Regions from separate parts of the Homo sapiens genome. Here regions 1 and 3 are each linked to region 2. The links are contacts of gene promoters, found by promoter capture Hi-C in blood cells and fetal thymus (Javierre and others, 2016). All regions are on one chromosome and are shown on one strand. Each heading gives the region's core, a stretch centred on a gene start or on the middle of the fragment in contact. The rest is flanking DNA. Distances are from core to core; before and after follow the strand shown. Region 1 holds the start of NCKAP1 (NCK associated protein 1). Region 2 holds the start of UBE2E3 (ubiquitin conjugating enzyme E2 E3). Region 3 overlaps NUP35 (nucleoporin 35).

What was found. The method cuts DNA at HindIII sites, captures the fragments that hold promoters and counts their contacts. A CHiCAGO score of 5 or more calls a contact.
Region 1: the fragment with the promoter of NCKAP1 here is called in contact with the fragment with the promoter of UBE2E3 in region 2 in 10 of 17 cell types (activated CD4 T cells, fetal thymus, naive B cells and 7 more); the score reaches 15.6 in activated CD4 T cells.
Region 3: a fragment that was not itself captured here is called in contact with the fragment with the promoter of UBE2E3 in region 2 in 1 of 17 cell types (activated CD4 T cells); the score reaches 5.1 in activated CD4 T cells.

The regions. Positions count from the first base shown.
Region 1 is chr2:183,037,076-183,040,148 of GRCh38, reverse strand. NCKAP1 (NCK associated protein 1) reads left to right here and starts at 1,692. Exons shown (of 31, transcript NM_013436.5): 1 at 1,692-2,157. The coding sequence starts at 2,050. RefSeq lists silencers at 1,119-1,770, 1,503-2,092, 2,153-2,272. The HindIII fragment of the contact is 8,317 bases long and covers 1-3,073 here.
Region 2 is chr2:180,978,892-180,982,044 of GRCh38, reverse strand. UBE2E3 (ubiquitin conjugating enzyme E2 E3) reads right to left here and starts at 1,440. Exons shown (of 6, transcript NM_006357.4): 1 at 1,072-1,440; 2 at 1-27. The coding sequence starts at 2. It overlaps UBE2E3-DT (UBE2E3 divergent transcript), which reads left to right and starts at 1,033. Exons shown (of 2, transcript NR_187176.1): 1 at 1,033-1,979; 2 at 2,379-3,153. RefSeq lists a silencer at 1,163-2,022. The HindIII fragment of the contact is 2,197 bases long and covers 133-2,329 here.
Region 3 is chr2:183,126,927-183,130,035 of GRCh38, reverse strand. NUP35 (nucleoporin 35) reads right to left here. Exons shown (of 9, transcript NM_138285.5): 2 at 1,579-1,749. Among named protein-coding and RNA genes, the nearest start is that of NUP35, 4.0 kb to the right of the region's middle. The HindIII fragment of the contact is 1,080 bases long and covers 1,317-2,396 here.

The sequences.
Region 1 (3,073 bases), core at 443-2,942, 2.1 Mb before region 2:
GCAGCTACTAGTATTCAAGTTTATATGGCAACATGATAGTTTTTCTTGGGGAGTAAGAGTTGTGTTCAAATTTATAATACAGTGCCATTTTCTTGTTCTCCCTATACAGCAGTTTTTAAAAACTAGAAAATGAGACAATCTTTTATTGGTAGCACTCTGTAATTCTGCGTCTAGACTTAGTTATTTGTAGTCTCCCTAAAGGAGCACATATTTCCCCAATGTTCAACATTTTTAAATTTTCTTATCTGGCTACCCCAAACCCCTCCTCGCAGCCTCCCCTTCTCAGGTCTGCCCTTACTATTCCAGGCCCCACAACCTTGCCTCCTCTAAATTAAAATGTTAACTATCAGGCTGAGAAGTAACCAGATAAATTAAATTCCTTGACCAGTTAATGACTAGTAATAGCTCGACAGATGATCTCTCTGAAGTGTTTGTATTCTTAAGACTCTCTAGGTACAAAGCATTCATTCAAGGTACTGCAGCTTTGTATATAGAATTTCAGGCACACTGGCAGGTATGATTATGACTTCTTTTGGTGGGAACAGGACTCTTTTAAATGCCCCTTAGATTAAATCCATTCAGTCCACTCCTTCTTTCTTGTTGGAATATTAAAATGAAGATTTCTTTACGAATAGTAGATATAGTAGCTTTAAAAAATATTTTAAAGCTATTCATTACAATTTCCTTTTCTTAAAGAGTTTTGATAAATCCAGTGATGGCTTATTACTCTTAGAATGTCTTATTGAATGTGGCGGGACATTTTGTTACTGACTTAAAATTAATGAATATAATATAAAAAATTAACATATCGAGAAAAGGCAAAGCCAAAAATATTAGAGGCCTGAGTCCTCTTGGCTGAAGTTTCTCACCTCAATTACGTAAGTCCTCAGTTAGTTCACTTTTGGAATCATGTCTAATACATTTGACAAGGGAGTAGCCTTGGAGTGTCGCTAAGAAGAAATTGATCAGGAAAAATGAGATGGCAAAGAAGAATGTTTCCAAGAAGAAGTGGGATTTAGGGTGGAGGCTGTAAAAAAATGGGAGCGGTTCCTTTAGGCATTGAACAAACATTTATTTTTTGCCTTCCACATGCCAGGACCTACTGCGTCTCCTCCGGATGGGTGCTCCTCGCCGACAAAGTCTAGATTGTGATTATCTCAAGGACTTGAGTTACCCTCACTTCCGACCTCCTCTCTCACAAACTGGTTCCAGGCGGGGAGACTGAGGATGGGCTGGGGAGGCTGGCAGAGGCGATCCCCACCTCGCGGAGCACAACATCTGCTGTGTTCTGCGGCGAGCGCCTGTCAAGCAGTGGGAGGAAAAAGCGCTTGGAGCCACCAGCCCACTCTTAAGCGAAACTCGCCTGGAAAACACCCCGCCTCCCAGCAGAGTTTCTGCCGGTTTCTTTAGAAGGGTGGTGCGGAAAAGCAACTTTTGGGAACTTGAAGGAGTGGGGTGTGGGGCGAAGTGGAAAGAGCACACAACGCGACCCCACTCAGTCCCCGCTTGGGACTCCCATCCCGGCATCAGGCGTAGTGGGCGGTCCGGGCCAGGGCCAGGGCCAGAGCGGCGGCGGCGAGGCCATGCCGAGGGCCCGTCGGCCGCAGTTCCCCGTCCGGCCTCGCGGGGGCGCCGGCGCTGCCGATCAGGTGACCGAGGGCCCGTCCGGGGCTGCGGGAAGCGGCCTCGTTCTCAGCCGCCGGAGACGCCGCCGCCGCCGCCGCCGCCGCCACACCTAGTGGAGCAGCCGGGGAAGGCGGCTCGTTGGGGGCTGGGGCGGAGAGCGCCGGGGGTGGGGGCGGAAGGGCGGCGGGCGGAAGGCAGGAGGCTGCCGGGGCGCGGGCTGCTGCGGGAGAAGGGGCTCCGAGGAGTCCGCCGCGGCTCGCTCTGTCGCCGGCGCGGGATTGGGGCGCGAGGGCCATGGGCGCGCTCTCCTAAGGCGGAGGTCGCGGGCGGGAGGGGAGGAGGCCCGAGAGAGGCTGCTGCGAAGGCCGCGGGCCCGTGACTGGGCGCGAGGCGGCCGGCGGCGGCGGCGGCACCAGCACCACCATGTCGCGCTCAGTGCTGCAGCCCAGTCAGCAGAAGCTGGCGGAGAAGCTCACCATCCTCAACGACCGGGGCGTCGGCATGCTCACCCGCCTCTACAACATCAAGAAGGTGCGCACGGGCCGGGGAGGCCGCGGCGGAGGCGGGCGGGCCCGGGAGGGATGAAGGGCAAGGGAGGCCGTGGGGTGGGGGCGGCAGGAGGCGCCGGGTGTAGAAATCTCGGCGTCGCCGCCCGAGGCCCGGCCCGGGGTCGCCTGGATGCGCCGCGGCCTAATGCGGAGTCCCGGGCGCCTCTCCCTGTGGTTCGCCGGCCGGCCGAAGGCAGAGAAGCCATTTCCCGGCTCCCGGCGGCGGGATCGGGCGCTGGGCCTCGCACGGGGTGGGGGCGCCGCTGGGAGCCGGGAGCTGTCCCCTCCTCGGCGCCCCCGCCCCCATGATGGGGCCCATAGGAAAGGGAGGGTGGTGGGTGGGCGAAATTCTAGGTGGGTAGGAAAACTTGAGTGTTCCATATTCTTACGGAGATGGCAGCAGTGAACAGGGATTACACCCCACATCCCCATTTTTTGGTGTGGGAATGTGGGTAGAGAAGGGCTGATTGGATGAATCCCGTATCCCCTCCACTTTGCCACTTTATTTTAGATTGCTAAATAAAAAGCCATTGAGAGTGTGTTGACGATTTGGGATTATTTCATTTTGAAGGTGGAGAGGAGGGGGAAGTGAGGGTGGAACCAATTTTCTGAAATACTTCTAGGCTGTGAGTCACTAGAACTGGAATAACAACCTTCTACTCTTTCCCCTGTACTCCTCCTCATGTTAGATTTTCCAATACCATTTCTTAAAGTTCGGTGTCTGTACAAAATAAAAACCGTAAAAATGTTGCAATTGCTGCTGATTTATAGCATAGTCTGATAATTTGAGCAACTATAGCTAATAGGCCCATTTAAAGGCTTTTACATGTCCTCAGTACAGTAAGGAGTGGAAGACCACTGGAAGTTTAGAAAAGTCCATGTAAAGATAGAACAAATAA
Region 2 (3,153 bases), core at 191-2,690:
ATCTTGGTGAAGTTATCTCTTGGAAAACTTTTAAAGAGAACAGGGGAGGAGGAGGAGAAAATGTTAAATCTAGGAAATAAACCAACAGCATTTTCTTCTAGTCATCTAAAATCGTCTTGTAATGAAAAAGCTTCAAAAGTGTTCACACTTATTTCATCGTACAACAGGGGTACGTACAAGGGAGGTGATGTGTCACACAACGCCAGCGTTAAGGGATTTGCCGAACTCAAGTTAGAAAACCCACTCACATTTTTTTCCGTCTCTTGGACAATCTATCAATTGTCTACTTTCTCAGAAGGCATGAAACAGATTTGCCAAGGAACTTAGGCAACAAGCATTAATAACATATGACACACTGTAAATAACAGATCTCGCTGAAAAATGTTTAAAAGTCACTAATAACGTCTAAATATTTACACACTGACATTGGTCAAAGCTACCAAATTCCCTTTCCGAGAGGAAAACACACCCTGTTAATCGCCCATATGCTTATTTAAGGTGGCGATTCCTCCTCAGTGCACGTAAAGCCTTTAAACACAACACTTGGAAATTTAAAAATCAACTAACGAGCTGCTCTAGCTGTTTCCACGGCCAGCAGCGAAGATTCATCCGGCCAAGACCGAGCTGCCACCCTGGGAAAAGCAGAATTCAAACTGCACCTTCTGCAAAGCTCCCAATGCCACCAAGGTTCCTCGCTCAATTTTTATATCACGGACCGACATTTTGTCCAAAATAACGAAAAAAATAAGAAACCCAGAGAAAAAACAAACAAATAAACAAAGCCCCAAGAAGTGCAACAAATTTCCGCGCCCGCGGAGGCGAGCCACGGCCGGCGGCGGCGGCCACGCAGCTCCGCGGCCCTTTGTGGGGAGGGCCGCGCGGGGGCCGCGGGTAGCGCTCGCCGCGCCGGGCGCCAAGTGATGCGAGCAGCCCAGCCGGCCCCGCCGCGGCTCGCGGACACCGGCGACGCGGGCGCCCGGCGCGAACAAAGCTGCCCGCCCCCGCCCCCTCCCCCACCGCCGCCGCCGCCCCGGCCGCCCCCCACGCGGCCCCCCGGCCCCGCCGCCTTACCTCGGCCGCCCGCCCGGCCCGCTCGCGCGCCGCTACGGTGTGGGGGAGGGAGAGAGAAAAAAACCCTTCCTTAAGGAAATGGAGGCAGCTGTGGGGGGGGGAAGGGGGGGGAGGGAAAAAAAGAAGCCGAGGAGGCTCTGGCCGGGGAGTGTGGAACATTGAAAGTCGGAGGGGGTTGTGCAGTGCCGGGCTCCGGCCGGAGGGTGGCGCCGCCCAGCGCCTTCGGAAAAAAGCGGGGGTGGGAGCTCGGCTGGGCGAGGGCGCGAGCTCCCGGCGAGGCGGAGGGGACGCGGGAGACCCCCGCGCGCTGTAGCCTCCCGCCGCCGCCGCCCGGCTCGGCTCCTCCCGGCCGCGCAGTCAGCAAGTTCCGAGGCGAGCGCGGGGGGGAGGGGCGGGCGCGGCGGCGACGCGCGTGCTCGCTGCTTGCCTGGCGGAGGGGCGCGCGCCGCCGACGCCCGGCGGGCGCGAGCTGTTCCCGCGCGCTCCCGTGCGCGCTCTCCACACCTCCCCTCACCCTGGGGGTGCACGCGTCCGCCCGCGCGCGGCCAGGACAAAGAGCGCGGCGGGGACCCGGCGGGCTGGCCCCTGCCGCCCTTGGCCGCGGAGCCTGTGCCAGAGAAGGCGGGGGCGCGGGCACCGTATCGCGGGGCCGCTGTGCCGCGGGGTGGCTTCCGGCCTGGGCCCGCCTCCGGGGCGAGGCTGCCCATTGGGCTACCCGCGTCCCCAGGGCTGGTTCCATCCCATCCGCCTGCGCGGGGGCCGTCGTGGCTCCCGGGGCCCCAGTACCTGGGCAAGGGCCCTGGGCGCGTGGTTGGGAGTCCCCCGCCGCCCCGGGAGACGGGAGACTAATGGGTGTTGTTGACGAGGCCAGGCACGCAGGCGGAGAAGAGCTGCCACTTGCCCCTCGCGTAAGCTGGAGGAAGGGACAAGTTGGGGTCCTGGGAATTGAAGAGGGTAGAATGTATTTGGAGATTAGGGGAACAACCTCTATTTCTTTTTGGCTCATAGCTTGCAACTGTCGCTGCCAAAGGGAAGTGTCCTTCGGATTATTTGAAACCTTAAAAATCCAAAACAGTGTTTAAAATGTCCCGCTCAACATTCTTAAAAGTGAAGGAGAAGAGTTTGGGGTTGGGGGGTGGCGATGAGAGCTAAAACATGACACTTTTCTGCGGGACTCTTCTGTCTTGCACATGAGGAGCCAGTTCTGGAAAGAAAAGTTCTGAGTGATGTTGAGTCAGAATGTCCACCCAGAAAAGCTTTAGGTGGAGATAGTGACAGTTTTGTTTGTTCTACCATTCTTTTTGCAGTCTCCAGGTGGACTCTGCGGTTTTTACCCCACGGCACAAAGTAGCCAGAATACAAAAACTTCCTGTTTGCCACCCAGGCCTTCTCCAGCTACTGAGAACTTGTTCCGGTGATGGAGCCTCAAAGGAATTTGTGGATTCCTCTCCCACAAGTGTCCAGGGGCAGGGGTGCTGTGAGAATGTGCAGTTCACAAAGGGAGTGAGAATGGCAGTCAAAAGATGTATAGAGTTAAGGGAAAGAAGAAAAGACTGAGTGAGCCAACGTATTTGCTTACTATTTCTCCTAATAGAAAACTTTTGGTAAAGGCTTGATAGCAACTCTAAAGAGTAAGTTACATTTCCATAATTTTCCAAAGACACAGTCATTCAGTTAACTTTATTGAGGGCTATATGTTGCTAGGTGCTGGACATACACTCATTCAATTGCTGTGTGACTAAAGCCAGGTCTCTACTCTGTGCTAAGAGCTCCTAGTCCAGAAGGGGAACAGTTCATTAAAGTTCGCTAGGTTCATAAGTAGTAAGGATATTCCACTCAGAATGAACAGATAGAATATCTCATGCCTCAAAAAAGATCATGGTCTGTGTGTGGACAAGCATTTTGATTTGGCTGGGTCAAAGAGTGCTTGTGGGAAAAGCTTGTTAGTGAAAATAAAAGCAGAATTTTCCCCCAGCTTTACACGATGTGATGTTACAGCAAAAGCCAGCCAATTTGGAGTTGAAGCTTTGCTTTGTTTGGAATGGGGAGACAGAAAAGGAAAGCTGTACGTTAAACATGGGT
Region 3 (3,109 bases), core at 607-3,106, 2.1 Mb before region 2:
TAGGTACTAAACAGCTCCAGTCTGTAGATTCCTGAATAAATACAATTCCCTATGTAGAGTTTGACTATCTAGATTAAGTAGATCCCATTCATGTTTCTCACAGTAGAAATATATTTAAGTACATAATAAAGATGTAGTAAAAGGACCAAGTTCTGTGACATAAAGATGTCTTTATCGATCAGAGAACATGCAATGTCAAATAGTGATGCAGCCCAGGCCATCGGTAAGACTAATGTCTGAGCCTGGACTGTACAGCTTAAGCTATTTAGAGCACAGTCTATGGAATAAGACTAACCTGAGGTTTATAGCGCTCGCTCACTTACTAGCAAGTGAGCTTCAGCAAATTACTTATTGCATTTAGCCTCAGTTTTCTCTTTTTAAAGATGGGGATACTATTACCTACCCTTTAAGATTGACAAAATAATGATTAGCATACTGCCAGGCTCATAAGCAATCAATATACGTTGGCTACCATAATAAAATAACACATTTGAAATTTAATGTTTAATGTTAAATGAATTACTTCAAATATAATTTATAATTCTCCCTGATAAATCCTAAATAATAAACCATTTTAAAGCAAAAATACTTTAAAGGGCAATTAAGGTAAAAAGAGTTTTCACTTGAACTACTACTAAAGGATATTAGCTCACAATTAGAATTCAACACTTCTGTATCTAATTCTCACTACTCAGTTAAAACTTCGAAGTCATTTTTTAAAGTATTTCTTTGCTAAAGGAGTTCTGTAATAAACACAGGCTGCATTTACAATACTTTGCCCTGACAATCACAAATTCTGTGTATAAAACCTCCCCCCCAAGTTTCCTTAAACACGCTATATGTGAGAATCTCAATTCACTAAGACTAAAGGCAGAATTCGTATCTACATCTTCAAGTTACACTTCTTTTGACCGATTATTTCCTATTCTTGTATCTTAAGATGAATTACTTTAAATGAATTCAGTTGAAGCTAAATGATGGTATTTCATCAACTCTGTGAGGCACTCTTCCCCCACCACACTCTGACATCTCCGACACAGAAATTTTACAAAAAATGGCATCTTAGCATTGTGTCATATTTAGGGTTATCTTTCCTAGTGGTACTTAAAAGCCAATTCAAAGGCATCTTAGAATGAAAAAAACATAGAATACATTTTAGTGGCTCTAGAAATTATAGCTTATACTTCTTACACCTCTATTCCAAGAGCCTTAAAAGCTTTGCTTTATAATAGACACATTGCTTAATTTTTTTTAATTAATGTATTGATGAGGGTGAATGCTGCACCACTACACTTTTAAAAATTCTAGCACAAGCTTGTCCCACCCATGGCTTGAACACCGCATGAAGCCCAGGATGGCTTTGAATGTTGCCCAACACAAATTGGTAAACTTTCTTAAAACATTTTAAGATTTTTTTTGCATTTTTTTTTTTTTTTAGCTCATCAGCTATTATTAGAGTTACTGTATTTTATGTGTGGCCCAAGTCAATTCTTCTTCCAATGTGGTTCAGGGAAGCCAAAAAATTGGACATCCCTGTATCTAGCATGTCTATAAAATTATTTTAAGCAATTCACCTACCTGCAAGTAAAGGTGATCTCATTTCCATTACTCCTACTGAAGGGCCACTAATTGATCGAGGTTGTGGAGTCACCGGAGCTGGCAAATCCCCCATTAAAAATCCAGGTAAGAACTGGGCATTAACTCCTGGCTTTGGAGATGTGGGTGAACCCAGCATCATTGGTTCAGATCCTACATGAATCAAAAAATAAATTAAGGACTTTTCTGTTACAGTTTCTGTTACATGTTGATGACAAAAACATGCAAGAATCTAACATAATTTTGCAAATTTAATCAAAACTTTTAGATATAATAGAACCATAGTTGAATTTATTATTTTAAAAGCCAACAAAAAATATTTCTAGAAAAATGTAAAGTTATCTTGTATTCACTTTTTTTTTTTTTCTGAGTCCGAGTCTCACTCTGTCACCAGGCTGGAGTGCAGTGGCGCAATCTCAGCTCACTGCAACCTTCACCTCCTAGGCTCAAGCGATCCTCCCTCCTCAGCCTCTCAGTAGCTAAGTCTACAGGCCTGCACCACCACGCCCAGCTAATTTTTGTATTTTTTTGCAGAAATGGGGTTTCACCATGCTGCCCAGACTGCTCTGGAGCTCCTGAGCTCAGGTGATCCACCAGCCTTGGCCTCCCAAAGTGCTGAGATTAAAGGTGTGAAGCCAGTACACCTGGCAGCACAATATTTATCTGTGACAGCTATTTTTGTTTACATTATTTCAGGGGTTTAAAAATCACACTAATAACTTCTTTCCATTTCCGAATCAGTTTGGACTATGTAACAACCAAAAACAAGGACAGGCTGCACTACTTATACATACAAAGCTTAGCATATCAAACACAATGGGTTAAGCTTGCTAAATTGTTTCTTTTTCTTCCCCATAAAAAGTTCATCATTATTGTGATAAAACCGTAACCATGCATATATTAGAGCACTTACAAAATAACAGTGATAACTAGCACCCTAACTCAGAAACATGTTGAAAAGAGTCGAAAACTTATTTTTGTATCTTTTTTCTTAATCATTAGTTTAAGTCAAGAATAATCACAGCTGGGCATGGTGACTCACGCCTGCAATCCTAGCACTTTGGGAGGCCAAGGCAGGAGGATCACTTGAGCTCAGGAGTTCAAGACCAGCCTGGGCAACACACTGAGATCTCATCTTTTTTATTTAAAAAAAAAAAAAAATTAAAGAATCATCATTAAATATCCCCCTAATATAAAGCCAACTTAGAGAACTGAAACCTCACAATTGATACAAAATAAATCCTCACAATCTATAGAGTAGATATTATTTCCCTTATGAAGATGAGTGAGCTATATAATTCTAATTTCAGAGCAAAATAGCAGAATAAGGAAAACAATGGGCTATGGAGTCAAAGATGTGGGTTCAAGTTCTCTCAGTAAAAGGGAATAAGCATAGCTAGCATCCACTAACAGAGCTTTTGTTAGAATTATAGCAAGTATAGCTTGACCTGGTACCTGATACACAGGTGCTCAATAAATACGAATTATTATTTTCTACAAATATTTTATAATA